Regions from separate parts of the Homo sapiens genome. Here all the other regions are linked to region 1. The links are contacts of gene promoters, found by promoter capture Hi-C in human tissues and cell types (Jung and others, 2019). All regions are on one chromosome and are shown on one strand. The core of a region is centred on a gene start or on the middle of the fragment in contact, and the rest is flanking DNA. Distances in the headings are between cores, read along the strand shown. Region 1 overlaps CRAMP1 (cramped chromatin regulator 1). Region 2 holds the start of UNKL (unk like zinc finger). Region 3 holds the start of CCDC154 (coiled-coil domain containing 154).

The links. Contacts are between HindIII fragments. The study calls those that stand out against the background at their distance.
Region 2: a contact is called between the fragment with the promoter of UNKL here and a fragment that was not itself captured in region 1, in 1 of the 25 tissues and cell types used here (dorsolateral prefrontal cortex).
Region 3: a contact is called between the fragment with the promoter of CCDC154 here and a fragment that was not itself captured in region 1, in 3 of the 25 tissues and cell types used here (dorsolateral prefrontal cortex, lymphoblastoid cells and stomach).

What each region holds. Positions count from the first base shown.
Region 1 is chr16:1,632,334-1,637,416 of GRCh38, reverse strand. CRAMP1 (cramped chromatin regulator 1) reads right to left here. Exons shown (of 21, transcript NM_020825.4): 4 at 5,052-5,083. Among named protein-coding and RNA genes, the nearest start is that of CRAMP1, 23 kb to the right of the region's middle. The HindIII fragment of the contact is 4,859 bases long and covers 1-4,650 here.
Region 2 is chr16:1,411,618-1,416,700 of GRCh38, reverse strand. It overlaps UNKL (unk like zinc finger), which reads left to right and starts at 1,997. Exons shown (of 15, transcript NM_001372107.1): 1 at 1,997-2,086; 2 at 2,646-2,855. The coding sequence starts at 2,010. It overlaps UNKL-AS1 (UNKL antisense RNA 1), which reads right to left. Exons shown (of 2, transcript NR_188570.1): 2 at 4,450-4,772. RefSeq lists enhancers at 798-1,371, 1,372-1,946, 1,947-2,521, 2,522-3,096 and silencers at 1,593-1,662, 1,713-1,832, 2,373-2,422, 2,853-3,002. The HindIII fragment of the contact is 21,408 bases long and covers 1-5,083 here.
Region 3 is chr16:1,440,723-1,445,805 of GRCh38, reverse strand. CCDC154 (coiled-coil domain containing 154) reads left to right here and starts at 1,250. Exons shown (of 17, transcript NM_001143980.3): 1 at 1,250-1,490; 2 at 1,794-2,010; 3 at 2,111-2,300; 4 at 2,505-2,545; 5 at 2,831-2,926; 6 at 3,277-3,400. The coding sequence starts at 1,484. It overlaps CLCN7 (chloride voltage-gated channel 7), which reads left to right. Exons shown (of 25, transcript NM_001287.6): 25 at 1-871. The HindIII fragment of the contact is 26,646 bases long and covers 1-5,083 here.

The DNA of each region.
Region 1 (5,083 bases), core at 972-3,471:
CAGTGGATCTGCATAGCCCGGGCCCAGGCGGGAGGAGGAGCCAAGGACAGGTGCTCACCCCTGCCTGAGGCCCATTCTCCTTCCTCAGTAAGAGGCCCTGTTTTTTTTTTTTTTCTTTTCTTGGAGACAGGGTCTCACTCTCTCGCCCAGACTGGAGTGCAGTGGCATGATCTCGGCTCACCGCAACCTCTGCCTCCCAGGCTCAAGAGATTCTCCTGCCTCAGCCTCCCAAGTAGCTGAGATTACAGGTGCACACCATTATGGCCTGGCTAATTTTTGTATTTTTAGTAGAGACAGGGTTTCACCATGTGGGCCAGGCTGGTCTCGAACTCCTGACCTCAAATGATCTACCTGTCTCAACCTCCCAAAGTGCTGGGATTACAGGCATGAGCCACCGTGCCCAGCCAAGGCCCCTGTTTTATTTGGGAGGCAAACAGGCTGAGACATGGACAGCTGGTCATGGCTACACCACTGGAAGTAGTGGAGACTTCCAGAAGCCTCCTTAAAGAGCCTGATTTGGGCAGGAGGGTTCCCCTTTTCCCACCCCTCTTTCCTCAAGAGCCACTGCCTGGAGCTGTCACCAAGGACAGCCAAGCACAAGAATGGGAGGCACCTGGGTCCTGCCTGCCCTGGGCGCCAGCCTCTAGGCGTCTCTGCCACGAGACAGTGAATTCTGAGGCGCTTGGGCCACTGCTATTTTGCATTTTGTTACTGTATTACACCAGACCTAATCCTGCTAGGGAAACCAAGTGACAACACAGTCCAGGCCCCTTTGGGTCACTTCACAGAGCAGGGGTGAAGGCCATTTGTCCCCTCTACTCTCACAATTGTCCTCTCTAGTTCTCTCCTCAGAGACCTGTTCTCAAGGCCCTAAGACTGGTAAATGGAGAAGCAGGCTTTCAAGATATGAGGAGGATTCTGGACCATGGGTCTCGGACACGGCTAAGCACAGGCCAACTGCTCTCAAAGGCTCTTCTGAGAGAAAGACCTAAGACCTAAGGGCTCATCAGACTTTCTTTTTTTCTTTCTTTCTTTTTTTTTTTTTGAGACAGAGTTTCGCTCTTGTTGCCCAGGCTGGAGTGCGGTGACGCGATCTCAGCTCACTGCAACCTCCGCCTCCCAGGTTCAAGGGATTCTCCTGCCTCAGCCTCCCAAGTAGCTGGGATTACAGGCATGCGCCACCACGCCCTGCTAATGTTTGTATTTTTAGTAGAGACGGGGTTTCACCACGTTAGTCAGGCTGGTCTCAAACTCTTGACCTCAGGTGATCCGCCCACCTCGGCCTCCCAAAATGTTGGGATTACAGGCGTGAGCCACCACGCCTGGCCTCATCAGACTTTCTTAAAGGAGCCCATGACTCGGAAAGCTTTAAGATCCACTATTCAGTAGACAAGCAAAATGTGGCCATCCACCCAAAGGAAAATAATCCAGCCATACAAAGGACTGGCACACGCTACAACACAGACAAACCCTGAAACCTGACGCTGAGTGAAGGAAACCAGGCACAGAAGGACACATAGCACGTGATCCCATTTCTATGAAACATCCAGAGTAGAACGATCCATAGAGACAGGAGGTAGTAAACTGAGGGCTCCCAGCACCGGGGCACAGGGTTTCCTCCTGGGCAATGGACATATTCTGCAACTAGAGAGTGGCAATGGCTGCATAACCTTGTAAGTACATTAAGAACCACTAAGTTGTATGCTTTAAAAGGGTGAATAATATCCCCATTTCTAAAATATATATTTTAAAGTCCACTATTTGAAATGGCAAAAAGAAAAAAACCCACAACCCAGAAACAAGAAAGTAGCACCAAGAGCAAGACACTGCAGACAAGGGACCCCAGGGGAGGTGGGACCCTGGGACGAAGCAGGGCTTCCGGGAGGTGTCCCTGATGCCCCGCCTGGCCCCACGGCCTCCTAGGTGGCACCTCATGTTTTATTACACACTCAGGGACAGGAACCAAGCTCACCTCATCCAACTTTGAGTTCGTGAAGCAAAATCTCCACTGAGCAATGGACAGCAGCAAGGAAACGCAGATGTGCATGGAAACCACGGGAGATTAGTAAGACGAACACACACGCAAGGCCCCCAAGCTGGGGGCGGAGTCAGTCCCTTCCACGCTCGCTTGCCACCACTCTGTGTCTCACGCCACAAGATGAGTCAGACAAACCCATGATAAAGTGCACACGGTGTGCTCTTCAAAACTCCAAAGCACAGGCCAGGCGTGGTGGCTCACGCCTGTAATCCTTGCACTTTGGGAGGCCGAGGCAGGTGGATTTCCTGAGCTCAGGAGTTCAAGACCAGCTTGGCAACATAGTGAAACCTCATCTCTCCTAAAAAATATAAAATTAGCTGGGTGTGGTGGTGCACACCTGTAATCCCAGCTACTCGGGAGGCTGAGGCATGAGAATCGCTTGAAACTGGGAGATGGAGGTTACAGTGAGCTGAGAGTGCGCCATGGCACTCTAGCCTGGGCAACAGAGCAAGACTCTGGCTCAAAAAACAAAACAAAACAAAACTCCAAAGCACGCCAAAAATACATGTAACGTGAAAAAGTTGCCACTCTGTTTGATGCGCAATGACAGTCCATGGGGCCAGTCACTTCGCAGTGTCCTAGTGGCCTCCAGCCTCATGCTCCTGTTGGGCAAGTCAGCATCGGGTGCCCCAATGCCGCTGCCCGCTGGCACGGAGGCAGACAGCCCTGCTGAAGAGACAGTCAGGGCCATCAGAGAACCCGGGAGAACACGGGAGAACGGTGAGCTCAACAGGAAGAAGGCACATCATGTGGGGTCACACCAAAGATGCACGAACAGGAGACACCAAGGCTGTAGGAGCCTGCTGTGCCAGGTCAGGAAGAGAGGGAAGCACAGGGGCCCACACGGAGAAGGGAAAAGGACCTGTGTTGGGTGTGACCCCCCACCGAGAGGTGTGAGGGAGCATTTACCCTTCACCCTAGATGGACAGAAGGGCCAAAGAGGAATGAGGCCTCCTCGCACCAGCAAGTTTAGGATTAGGAGGTTGTTTAACAGGGAAAGGTGACACAATTAGAAAAGAAATGTTTGCTTTGACTGCCTTCTGAAATTGACATGGGAGAGAGCCTGGGTTGGCAAGTAGAATGTGCATTTGAACCTCAGAAGAGGAGATAAGTCTACGCCAGGAGCCTGAGGGTCCAAAGACGCTTCCCACCCTGCCCGCAGATGGTTCAAGCAAAGCACACTAGACCGAAGCTCCTGGAATCCCATCCCTCTCTCTATACCTCATCTACTAAACAGCTGCCCAGTCCCCTCCGCTGCTGGCCAGCTTCCCCCATAGAGAGCTTTTCAAGACCAGCCACAGTGGATGGCAGATCTGCTCTCATGGACTGACTTTCTTTCTTTTTTTTTTTTTGAGACGGAGTCTTGCTCTGTGGCCAAGCTGGAGTGCAGTGGTGCAATTCTCCTGCCTCAGCCTCCCGAGTAGCTGGGAGTACAGGTGTGCACCACCATGCCCAGCTAATTTTTGTATTTTTAGTAGAGATGCGGTTTCACCATGTTGGCCAGGATGGTCTTGATCTCTTGACCTCGTGATCCGCCCGCCTCTGCCTCCCAAAGTGCTGATTACAGGCATGAGCCACCGCGCGCAGCCTGGACTGTCTTTCAAAAAGGCACTAATGAACGATGCAAAGGACAGACGACACAGGAAGAGGCCGACAATGAAAAGTCGGTGCTGCGTGCCACTCTGGAAGGCACAAGGCCACTCACCACAACCTGACATTAACCACAACAGCCTTGGATGACGGGATCTGACCAGTGCTGAGATTTCAAATAAACAAGTGAGCTGAACATGAGAAGACCAGCACAGGCATCAAATATAGGACAAAACGGAACTGATGTGCTATAAATAGGTGAAGTCAGCAGAAAATCTTACATGAATGGTCACGTGGATACCAAAAGCAAACAAACAAAACCGCATCGGCGGCAGACCCGAATCAAGGGGTACCCCTAATGTGCAGAGACCAACAGCCGTTTCCATGGATCTCCAGAAACGGTGACAATCTCCCAGTGGAGGTTCTTCAGTGGAGAAGCTAGCTGCGTGGTGGGCAGGGGGTGTCTGCGGCCCTCAGGGCTCTGCCCAGTCACACAGGGGAGCTGGGTCCTGGCTCTTCCCAAAGCTCCGGGCAAAGCTGATGCACCATGGTCAAGATGCCATAACCCACCCAGAGGACACCACAGGAATGGCCAAGGCGAAGGACTTTAGGTCACCACGAGGCACAGGCAAGGGCACAAAGAGTGGCAGTGTGGCCACAGTCCAGGTACCCTGGGTCAGAATGTGAGACATCTGAAAGAAGGCTCAGAAGGCAGAGGGGTGCTCTGGGGGTACATCTGGAAGGACCAAGCTGTGTGTGAAGCTACAGGAATGAAGAGCAGGGCCCAGCACAGGTGCGCTGCTGGAGAGGTAGTTCTCATAGGCGGAGGCAGGAGGCAGCTAAGACTCCCAAGGACAGAGATGGTGATGGACAAAGCATCATCCGGAGAAGCCACCAGTAGCCAAAGGGTGCTCTGAGCCAGAAGCCAGAATTCTACCTGGGGATGACTTGGTCCCGTGACTGAACGAGGGCCGACGCAGACCTGGGTCCCAGTGTAGAGGGCGAGAGGCCTGGGAAGGCTGGCCGTCCCCCAGGAAGACCAGCGCCAGGCACGGTGCCTGCGGCCCAAGCCCCTCGCTGGACCATGGTGCTATCATTTGCAGTGGAGACCACAGGCTTCAGGTGAGCCAGGGACCCAGAACTCACGCACACTCAGAGCCACTGGAAACACACAAACCATAGCTCAGAAAAGCAGTGGTAAGAACCCTGGAGCATGGGATACGGGCCACTTCCTGGCAACTTGGTTTGACCGAGTTAGACAGCACACAATCAGCCAAAGCGCTGCAAGGCGAGGAGCCCCAGGCCAAGCGGCTGGTGAGAAAATGCCAGAAAGCAGGTCCGGCGGGCTTGCTGGAAGCTGCGCTCTGAGCAGAAGCCGGCCCTGCCTGTGGGCACCCCCGAGCCTGGCCCGTGGCACACTCACCATGATCAAAGTCGATGTACTTGGTGATCTTG
Region 2 (5,083 bases), core at 748-3,247, 220 kb after region 1:
TCCCTTGCTCTGTATCCTTGCAAGCGAGAGACCTGGGCGTCACCCTAGACTCCCTTTCCATTCCTAGCACCTTGGGAGTCTTCAAGATCTGTTTATTCGTCTCTGAAGAATTTGCAGGCCCTGCCCTTCCTGCTTGACTTCATTTTCCTGCTTGACTTCACTTGAAAATATGTTCTTCATTATCATTTTAAGATTTAAATGTAATGTTTGTAGAGATAATTCATTAAGAAAATGTGATCCTGGCTGGCGCGGTAGCTCACGCCTGTAATCCCAGCACTTTGGGAGGCTGAGGCAGGTGGATCACCTGAGGTCGGGAGTTCGAGATCAGCCTAACTAATGTGGAGAAACCCCGTCTCTACGAAAAATAAATTAGCTGGGCGCGGTGGTGCATGCCTGTAATCGCAGCTACTCAGGAGGCTGAGGTAGGAGAATTCCTTGAACCTAGGAGGCGGAGGTTGCAACAGTGAGCCGAGATCGTGCCATTGCACTCCACTCTGGGCAACAAGAGCAAAACTCCTTCCTCCCCCCGCCCCCCGCCAAAAGAAAAAGAAAATGTGAACCTATGAAGAAATTTATCCTACCAGCAAATGATAGTTTTTGTTGTTTTACAGTATTAATATTAAAAAAAACCCTGAGATACTTGGAACAAATCTGTAGGAAGTGATTTGCTTTCAACCTAAATGGGCCCATTTTTCTTTTCGTTTTTTTTTTTTTTTTTTTTTTTTTTTTTTGAGACGGAGTCTCGCTCTGTTGCCCAGGCTGGAGTGCAGTGGCGCGATCTCGGCTCACTGCAAGCTCCGCCTCCTGGGTTCAAGTGATTCTCCTGCCTTAGCCTCCTGAGTAGCTGGGACTACAGGTGCCCACCACCACGCCCGGGTAATTTTTTTTTTTTTTTTTGTATTTTTAGTAGAGACGGGGTTTCACCGTGTTAGCCAGGATGGTCTCGATCTTCTGACCTCGTGATCCGCCCACCTCGGCCTCTCAAAGTGCAGGGATTATAGGCGTGAGCCACCGCGCCCGGCCAATGGGCACATTTTTCATATCACTAAAAATTTCTTTTTTATTTTTTGAGACAGGGTGTTACTCTGTCACCCAGGCTGGAGTGCAGTGGCGCAATCTCGGCTCACTACTAAACCTCCGCCTCCCGGGTTCACGCCATTCTCCTGCCTCAGCCTCCGGAGTAGCAGGAATTACAGGCGCAAGCCACCACACCCCACTAATATTTTTGTATGTTTAGTAGAGACGGGGTTTCACTGTTGGCCAAGCTGTTGTCAAACTCCCGAACTCAGCTGATCCGCCGGCCTCGGCCTCCCAAAGTGCTGGGATTACAGGCGTGAGACACCGCGCCCGGCCTCCTACCACTAAAAATTCTTCGGAAGCACTGTTTCAAATCACGCAGAGCACTTAGAGTTTTCCCTTTTCTCAGCTACTGCGCTGTTGGGGGAAGGGGGACCTCAAGTGTTTGCAAAATAACTGTGATAATTACCTTTGTAGATAAATCTCTGAGTATAAGTTTTTGAGGTCAAGGTTCGAAATGGAACAAATTCCTTTCTACAAAGGCCAGGACCCCTTGGCCCTTCCGCCCGGTGCCTGGCTCCCCCTGACATCAGCCTCTTGGTTCGTTTGTGGAAGAGCAGCTCTATTGAGATACAACTCTTGTGATTAATTCATGTAAAATACACGGTTATGTCGGGTCATGTCACAGCAGGGGCGACCATCGCGGGTCCCACGCGCGGCCCCGGGCAGGACCAGCGTCCCGGGCCGGGGGCTGCAGGGCAGGGCAGGGCAGGGCAGGGCAGGGCAGGGCAGGGCAGGGCAGGGCGGGGCGCGGGGCTGGGGCGGGGTCTGCGGGCCGGGGGCGGGGCTGCGGGGGGCGCGGGGCTGGGGCGGGGCCGGGGTCTGCGGGCTGGGGGCGGGGCCGCGGGGGGCGTGGCCGCGGGGGCGCGCGGGGATATCCGGGGGCGGGGGCGCCGGCGCGGCGCATGCGCGCTGCATTGTTTTGACTGAAAATGCCGTCGGTTTCGAAAGCGGCGGCAGCGGCGCTGAGCGGGTCCCCCCCGCAGACTGAGAAGCCGACCCACTACAGGTCAGCGCCCGTCCGGCCTGCGGCCCCCCGCCCGCGCCCGGTGCAGCTCGGAGCCTCCCGCCGGGGCTCGCGCCGCCTCCGCCGCCCCCGCGCCCCCCGGCCTCCGCGCAGCGCCTGGGCTGGGGGGGCCACGACCCTCTGCTCTCGGCGGCCTCCGCCTGAGGTCGGAGCGCGGCGCCCATGGTCTGGGATGGCACCTGGTTCCGGGGTCCACGCGCCTCTGGGGAGGGAGGAACGCCCCGGGGTTGGGGGTTGCGCCTGGGCTCGGGGACCGGGACCCTCTGCTCCGGCTGCCGACCGTGAGGTCACAGCGGGTCGCCCAGGGTCCGGGGTGGCGCTTGGGCTTGGGGACCAGGGTCAGCGCCTGGGCTACGAGGTCGGGTGAGGGTCGCGTCTGGAGTCGGGATGGGGGTGGGCGCAGCGCCTGGGGCCCGCCGGGAATGTGAGTACGGGTCGACCCTGGGTTGAGGCTCCTGAGGCCGGTGGGTCCCGCCGCCCACGAGTCCGAGTCCCTGGAGGTGCTGCCGGAAGCGAGCCGCGGCGCTGTCTGTGTTTGTAGGTACCTGAAGGAGTTCAGGACGGAGCAGTGCCCCCTGTTTTCACAGCACAAGTGCGCGCAGCACCGGCCGTTCACCTGCTTCCACTGGCACTTCCTCAACCAGCGGCGCCGCAGGCCCCTCCGCAGGCGCGACGGCACCTTCAACTACAGCCCCGACGTGTACTGCTCCAAGTACAACGAAGCCACCGGCGTGTGCCCCGACGGCGACGAGTAAGCGGCCGCGAGGGGGCGCCGCTGCCTGGGCGGAGGTGGGGGGCCTCCACCCGGGGATGCGGCCGGGACCCTCAGCGGACGCCTTAGTGTCCATACCTGGCCCCTGCAGAGGGAGTCGTAATTATACGCTGAAATTTTCTAGTGACCAGGGATGCTGGGGCGGCATTTCCTATTCTCAGGCCAGTTCCCGAGGGATTATGTGTGTTTTAGGGGTAACCCTTGTGTGACTCAAACCAATTTTGCTTCACCTCCCACTTTTTTTTGTTTGTTTTTTGAGACGGAGTTTCACTCTTGTTGCTCTGGCTGGAGTGCAATGGCATGATCTCGGCTCACTGCAGCCTCTACCTCCCAGGTTCAAGTGATTCTCCTGCCTCAGCCTCCGGAGTAGCTGGGATTACAGGCATGTGCCACCATGCCCAGCTAATTTTTTATTTTTAGTAGAGACAGGGTTTCTCCATGTTGGTTAGGCTTGTCTCGAACTCCCAACCTCAGGTGATCCACCCACCTCGGCCTCCCAAAGTGCTGGGATGACAGGCATGAGCCACCGTACCCGGCCCCACTTTTTTTTTTTTTTTTTTTTTTTTTTTTTTTTTTTTTTTGAGACAGGGTCTTGCTCTGTCGCTGGGGCTGGAGTGCAATGATAGGATACGGCTCACTGCAGCCACCAACTCCTAGGCTCAAGTGATCTTCCCTTCTCAGCCTCCCAAGTAGCTGGGACTACAGGCTCATGCCATGCCAGCTAATTTTGCATAGTTTTTGTAGGGATGGGGTCTCACTACATTGCCCAGGCTGGTCTTGAACTTCTGGGCTCAAGCAATCCTCCTGCTTCAGCCTCCCAAAGTGCTGGGATTCCAGGTGTGAGCCACTGTGCCTAGCTGTTTCCCACTCTGATTTGACACAGTTCCTGCATGAGAACCAACCTCTGGCCAAGTGCCTTGTTTTGTGTTTCTATAGAGACAGGGTTCTTGCTGTAGCCTGGTCTGGTCTCAACCTCCTGGGCACAGCGATCCTCCCTCCTTGGCCTCCCAAAGTACTGGGATTCCAGGCATGATCCACTGCGCCCGGCCAGGTTTTGAAGCGTTTTGTAGTGGTCGGTTGCTTTCCACACAGAGAGCTTGTTAGAATATTCACGCTGTAGAATATATCTGGGATGTTTCGTCTCTTGATGTTTACGTATTTATTTTAATTTTAAGACAGTAAAGTTTTTATGTGCAGGCTCATTTATGTAGCATCGAGACTGAGTCTCGCTCTGTCACCCAGGTTGGAGTGCAGTGACTTGATCTTGGCTCACGGCAACCTCTGCCTTGTGCAGGTTTAAGTGACCTGCCTCAGCCTCCTGAATAGCTGGGATTACAGGCACCCGCCACCACGCCTAGCTAAGTTTTTGTATTTTTAATAGAGTTGAGGTTTCGCCATGTTGGCGAGGCTGGTCTCGAACTCCTGACCTCAGGTGATTCTCCCTCCTTGGCCTCCCAAAGTGCTGGGATTACAGGCGTGAGCCACCACGCCTGGCCCCTATGTAGCACTTTTAAAGTTAAGAAATCAAGGTTTTGTTTTGGTTGATTTTTTTCTTTTTTTACAAGGTTCCTAATAGTGTTATGAACAGATGTCTTTATTCTGAAGTATGCAAAATGGGAAAACAGGGAAAATACAAGTCAGATTATATATTCACAGACTGGCGGGAGGTGGTATCAGGTTCTACTTGCTTCCTGTGGGCTGCTGGCGGAGGGTGGAGGGCGGAGGGTGGTCCATTCCTGCCTAGGGGTGAGACAGCAGCAGTTGCGGTCTTGAAGTCTTCATCCCCTGATCTTTTGGAAGGAGCTGATTCTCCAGGGACCTTCCTGTTGAAGGCTGCTTTCAGCACGGAGATCCTTGTGAAGTCTGTTTTCCTTTATTTTTTCAACAGTGCTTAGCCTAGGCGATAAATTAAAAAAAATTTTTTTTAAGGACGCTAGAAACTTTAAATACTGAAATGTTTTTAATTGTACATTAGTTAAATAGTGTTTGTTTTGTTTTTGTTTTGAGACGAAGTCTCTGTCACCCAGGCTGGAGTGCAGTGGCGCCATCTCAGCTCACTGCAACCTCCGCCTCCCAGGTTCAAGCGATTCTCCTGCCTCAGCCTCCCGAGTAGCTGGGATTACAGGCGCGTGCCACCACGCCCAGCTAATTTTTGTATTTTTAGTAGAGACGGGATTTCTACATGTTGGTCAGGCTGGTCTTGAACT
Region 3 (5,083 bases), core at 1-2,500, 190 kb after region 1:
GGGAAGGCAGGTCTTCCCCTAGCACATGGGGACCCCGGCCTCGAGGGTGACCTCCCTACCCCGCCCCTGCCAGCCACCAAGCGCAGGTGCAGCGGGGGCCAGACTCCTGCCGGCCTCAGAGGACACCTGGCCCAGCACAGGCAGCTAGAAGGGCCGGTGGGCACCGGGGCCGGGAAGCCCCCACCTCACCACCTGAGGGCCCCTGGGAGGCTCCTCTGGCCTGGCTGGGCTGGGTCTGGGGCCGCCACAGGCCCCTCACGGGGCGGCAGAGGCAACTTCAGTGTCCCTGTTAGAGCAACACGGGTCCCTCCGTGGGGGGCTGGGTGCGGCCCCCTGCCGTGTATTTCCTCCCCAGGGAGTGGGGCCTCCCCGGGAGCTGACGCCACCACCCTGCTTAGCCCTCACAGGGCCCCAAGGTGTCCGAGTGTGTTGGGTCTGAACGCGAAATAAAGAAATCCTCTCAGCCCGCCTTTGCCAGCGTCGTCCCTCCCACCCCACCCAGACCACGTCCAACAGCCTGGGACTTTCGGGACCCTGGGGTCGGGGCACCGTGTGGAGTGAGAAAGGCGTGAAAGACAGCGGCTGCGGCCACCCAGGGCACCAGCCACATCCTCTTCCTCGTCCCCGCCCCTCAGCCTCCCTCCTCTGGCTCCTGGCTGGTGGGTCTGGGGGCAAGGCAGAGGCGCTCCAGGTGGAGGGGGGCGGGCCGGGGTGCCCACGCTGGGGTGACGCAAGAAGAAAACTCCCGGGCCTCAGAGTCGGCGCCGGAAACCTAGGTCTGGGTTTCCCTCGTGGTGGTTGTGTACTGAGGACCTGGAAGTGATCATATTTTGGATATATTCGGTTAAATAAAATCAGCGGTTAGGATTCACATCGCTGCTTCTTGCCTTTTAATGGGGCTGCTGAGCAAGATGGGTTCCCGTGGAGCCCGGCTGTGCCCCTCACCCCGATGGCGCTGCCCAGGCCTCGGGCTCCGCTCGGACGTGGGCCTGGCTGTGTCCGGGGTGTCCTGGGGCTCTCGGCCTCCCTGCTCCCAGCGTCCCTCCCGGCGTGCCCAGGCCTCGTCAGGGCCTCCTTCCCCTCCCTCGGCAGCTGAAGAAGTCCCCTTTGCCAGAGGACACGTGTCTGCGCCCTCTCGGGAGTGGGGCCCCTCAGATCCATCCAGAAGCAGGCAGTTGGGGGGCCCTGCGGGAGTGGGAGAGCTGAGGGCTAGAGTTCCATTGGCAGTTGGGCTGTGAAGCCGTGAGGTTCTGGGGAGAGAAGGAAGGTTCTGGAACGGCCCCGCTGCCCCACACCTGCCTCCCTGGGGACCCTGAGAAGGCAGCCAGACGAGGGCAGCAGCTCGTCCCTCAAGGCCCAGAGCTCTCACGGGACTTCCTCTGGCTCCTGACCCCCCTGGCCTGTGCCCAGCTCTGGGCAACCTCAGAGGCCCCAAGGCCCAAGCTACAGCCGAGGGCAGGGTGGCCGGTGCAGCCCAGCAGCCATGTCAGGTGACCAGAGCGGAGGAGCGGGGCCCAGGGAGGGGCTTGCCACAGGTGTGAGGGTGGGGACCGCTCTGCTTCTGACCCCGGGCTCCCTCCAGCTCGCTTGTTCCTGCCGCCCAGTGCTGTGTGTCTTCAGGCAGGGCCCTGGACTTGTCTGAGCCAAGCCCGTCTGGATCCTGTGTGACCCAAGGAGACGCGTTGAGCTCTGGGTGGTGGGCGAGGGTCCTGCGGGGGTTTGGGGCCTTGTTCCCGTAAGCTCCAGTGGGGGCCGGGCCCCAAGGGGCAAGCTCCCAAGATGCCTCCTTGTAGAGTTGGCTGACAGTGGACCCTCAGGGGCATCGGCCCCTTCCCAGCTGAGAGCCGTCACCCTGGAAGACCTGGGGCTCCTCCTGGCAGGAGGCCTGGCCAGCCCCGAGCCCTTGAGCCTGGAGGAGCTCTCGGAGAGGTATGAGTCCAGCCATCCGACATCCACGGCCTCTGTCCCCGAGCAGGACACCGCCAAGCACTGGAACCAGCTGGAGCAGTGGTGAGCCCTGCAGGGGGTGCTGGCGGGGGAGGACCACGTCGCCGCCGCCTCCGCCTCCACGGCGGGCACCGCCAGACTCGCCCACTCTCGCCCCGGCCAGGGTGGTGGAGCTGCAGGCCGAGGTGGCCTGCCTGCGGGAGCACAAGCAGCGCTGTGAGCGCGCCACGCGGAGCCTGCTGCGGGAGCTGCTCCAGGTGCGGGCCCGCGTGCAGCTGCAGGGCTCAGAGCTGAGGCAGTTGCAGCAGGAGGCGCGGCCGGCAGCCCAGGCCCCCGAAAAGGAGGCGCCGGAGGTGAGCGGCTCCCCCACCCACAGGTCGAGCTGCCCCTTTCCTGGGTGTTGGGGGCAGCTGCTTCTGGGCCTGGAGCCCAGCTCACCCCTGCTGCCCAGGCCCAGAGCTCCCAGGGGCCAGTGGTGCCGGAGCTGGGTGGACTCCAGGGGCAGGTGCCAGACCCGGGCCTAGGTCCAGCCCACAGCCTCCTCTTCCTCCTCGCAGTTCTCTGGTCTCCAGAACCAGATGCAGGCCCTGGACAAAAGGTACCCCCCACACACCTAGGGGCACAGGCCCAGGGCGGGGAGGTGGTGGCGAGAAAGCAGCGGCAGGTGTGGTGGGGGGTCCACATCTCCCGCTGGGTGTCGCTGGAGTGGGGGATACACATCCAGGTCCAGCTAGAAAAGGCCGGGTTTGTACGTGCCTGGGCGGCCTTCAGAGGCCCAGGAAAGCCATGGGAGGTGGCCACAGGGGCCCCTTGGCCAGACCCCCAGCCCGCCGAGGCTGCTCAGCCCGCCTGGGCCTCTCGGGAATGGCTTGTTGTGTCCCAGGCTGGTGGAGGTCCGGGAAGCCTTGACCCGGCTCAGGAGGAGGCAGGTGCAACAGGAGGCGGAGAGAAGGGGCGCCGAGCAAGAGGCCGGCCTCAGGTGGGCGCCCACCGCCCGTGGCTGGCTCCGGAGCTTGCGTGGGGTCATTTGAGAGTCCCTGGCTGAGCCAAGACACGGGTCCCCCTGCCGTGTGTCCCCAGTAACCCGGCGGGGCACCGCCCTCGGTGCCAAGCGTGCTGGGAAGCCTGGGCCCGCTGCGGACCCTCTGTGGGGAAGAGACTCGCAGCAGCCCTTCCCTGCCACCGGTGCTGTGTTTCCCATTCCTCTGTTTTCTGGTGGGGCAGGGGGCGGGGGTCGTACACCTCCTGCCTGGCCAGCCTGTGGGTCAGCCTCACCCTGCTGGGCCCTCCGGCCAGCTGGGCTGGTGTGACCACAGCCGACTTCTCTAGACTGGCCAAGCTGACCGACTTGCTGCAGCAGGAGGAGCAGGGCCGGGAGGTGGCCTGCGGCGCCCTGCAGAAGAACCAAGAGGACAGCAGCCGGAGGGTGGACCTGGAGGTGGCCAGAATGCAGGTACCACCAGGCCCAGGCTTCAGGGGGGCCGCCCAGAGGGCCGAGGAGGAGACCCTAACCCTCTCGGCCTGTGCCATCCGATACAGCGGCCGTTCACCATGTATCTGTGTCCACTGAAATCAGCTATAGTTGTAGACAATGTAAAACTCAATTCCTCAGCCGCACATGCCCCATTTCAAAAGTTCAGGTTGTTTGGGCACGGTGGCTCACGCCTGTAATCCCAGCACTTTGGGAGGCTGAGGCGGGCAGATCACAAGGTCAGGAGTTCAAGACCAGCCTGGCCAACATGGTGAAACCCCATCTCTACTAAAAATACAAAAAACTAGCCAGGTGTGGTGGCGGGCACCTGTAGCCTCAGCTACTGAGGAGGCTGAGGCAGGAGGATTGCTTGAATCCAGCAGGAGGAGGTCACAGTGAGCTGAGATCGCGCCACTCCAGCCTGGTGACAGAGTGAGACTCCATTTCAAAAAACAAAACAAAACAAAAAAACAAAAGCTCAGGCCACGTGCAGTGGCACACGCCTGTAAATCCCAGCACTTTTGGGAGGCCGAGGCGGGAGGATCGCTTGAGCCTGGGAAGTCAAGACCAGCCTGGGCAACACAGCGAGACCTCATCTCAAAAAAAAGCTCAGTTGCCACGTGGGGCCGGCAGCTGCAGATCTGGGCGCTCTTCGTCCCAGGAAGCTGCCTGTGTCCTGCCGCCTCCACCCCTCCCCACACAGCCAGCGCCTGCCCGGGTCCACAGATCGCAGCCCCGAAGCCCCTTCCACGGCCACTCTCGGGCTCCACCTTTCCCTGCACACAAAGCGGAGTTCACCTTCCTCGAGGACACGAGTTCCTAGAAGCCAGGGTCCCACCCACGGGGCTGGAGTGGCTCCCCCTCCTGCTGTGGCCTCAGCAGGGGCCTCCGCTGTGGGTGGGGAGGGAACGGGCAGCTGCACATTTCAGCAGCCCGGGTCTGAGCTCCACAAATAGAGACCGGGGACTGCAGCCAGCTCCCGTGCGCATCAGGCAGTACGCTGGGTGAGGGGCCAGGACTGCCGGGGCACCCAGCTGCCACCCACATAGCTCCACTGCCCGGAGCCGGCAGCCTCCCTCTCACTGCCCTTCAGGAAGTTACTGAGTGGCCGTGTGGAGCAGGCAGGGGTGCTGGGCTGAGGATTCCCAAGGTGCCAGGTGTGGGGGAGCTGCCGCTCATGAGGGCGTCTGCCTTTCCCTGAGTCCGGGTGTCTGAGTGCTCTCTAGGGCCAGAGGCAGCAAAGCCAGGCCGACACTCGTTTTTTGTTTTGAGACAGGGTATTGCCTGGTTGTTCAGGCTGGAGCGTGGTGGTGCCATCACAGCTCACTGCAGCCTCAACCCCCCAGGCTCAAGTGATCCTCTTGCCTTAGCCTTCCCAGTAGCTGTGACTGCGGGCGCATGCCACCATGCCTGGCTAATTTTTTTTTTTTTTTTTTTAAGACGGAGTCTCCCTCTGTTGCCTGGGCTGGAGTGCAGTGGCACGATCTCGGCTCACTACAAGCTCCGCCTCCCACGTTCACACCATTCTCCTGCCTCAGCTTCCCGAGTAGCTGGGACTACAGGCGCCCACCACCACGCCCGGCTAATTTTTTTGTATTTTTAGTAGAGATGGGGTTTCACTGTGTTAGCTAGGATGGTCTCGATCTCCTGACCTCGTGATCTGCC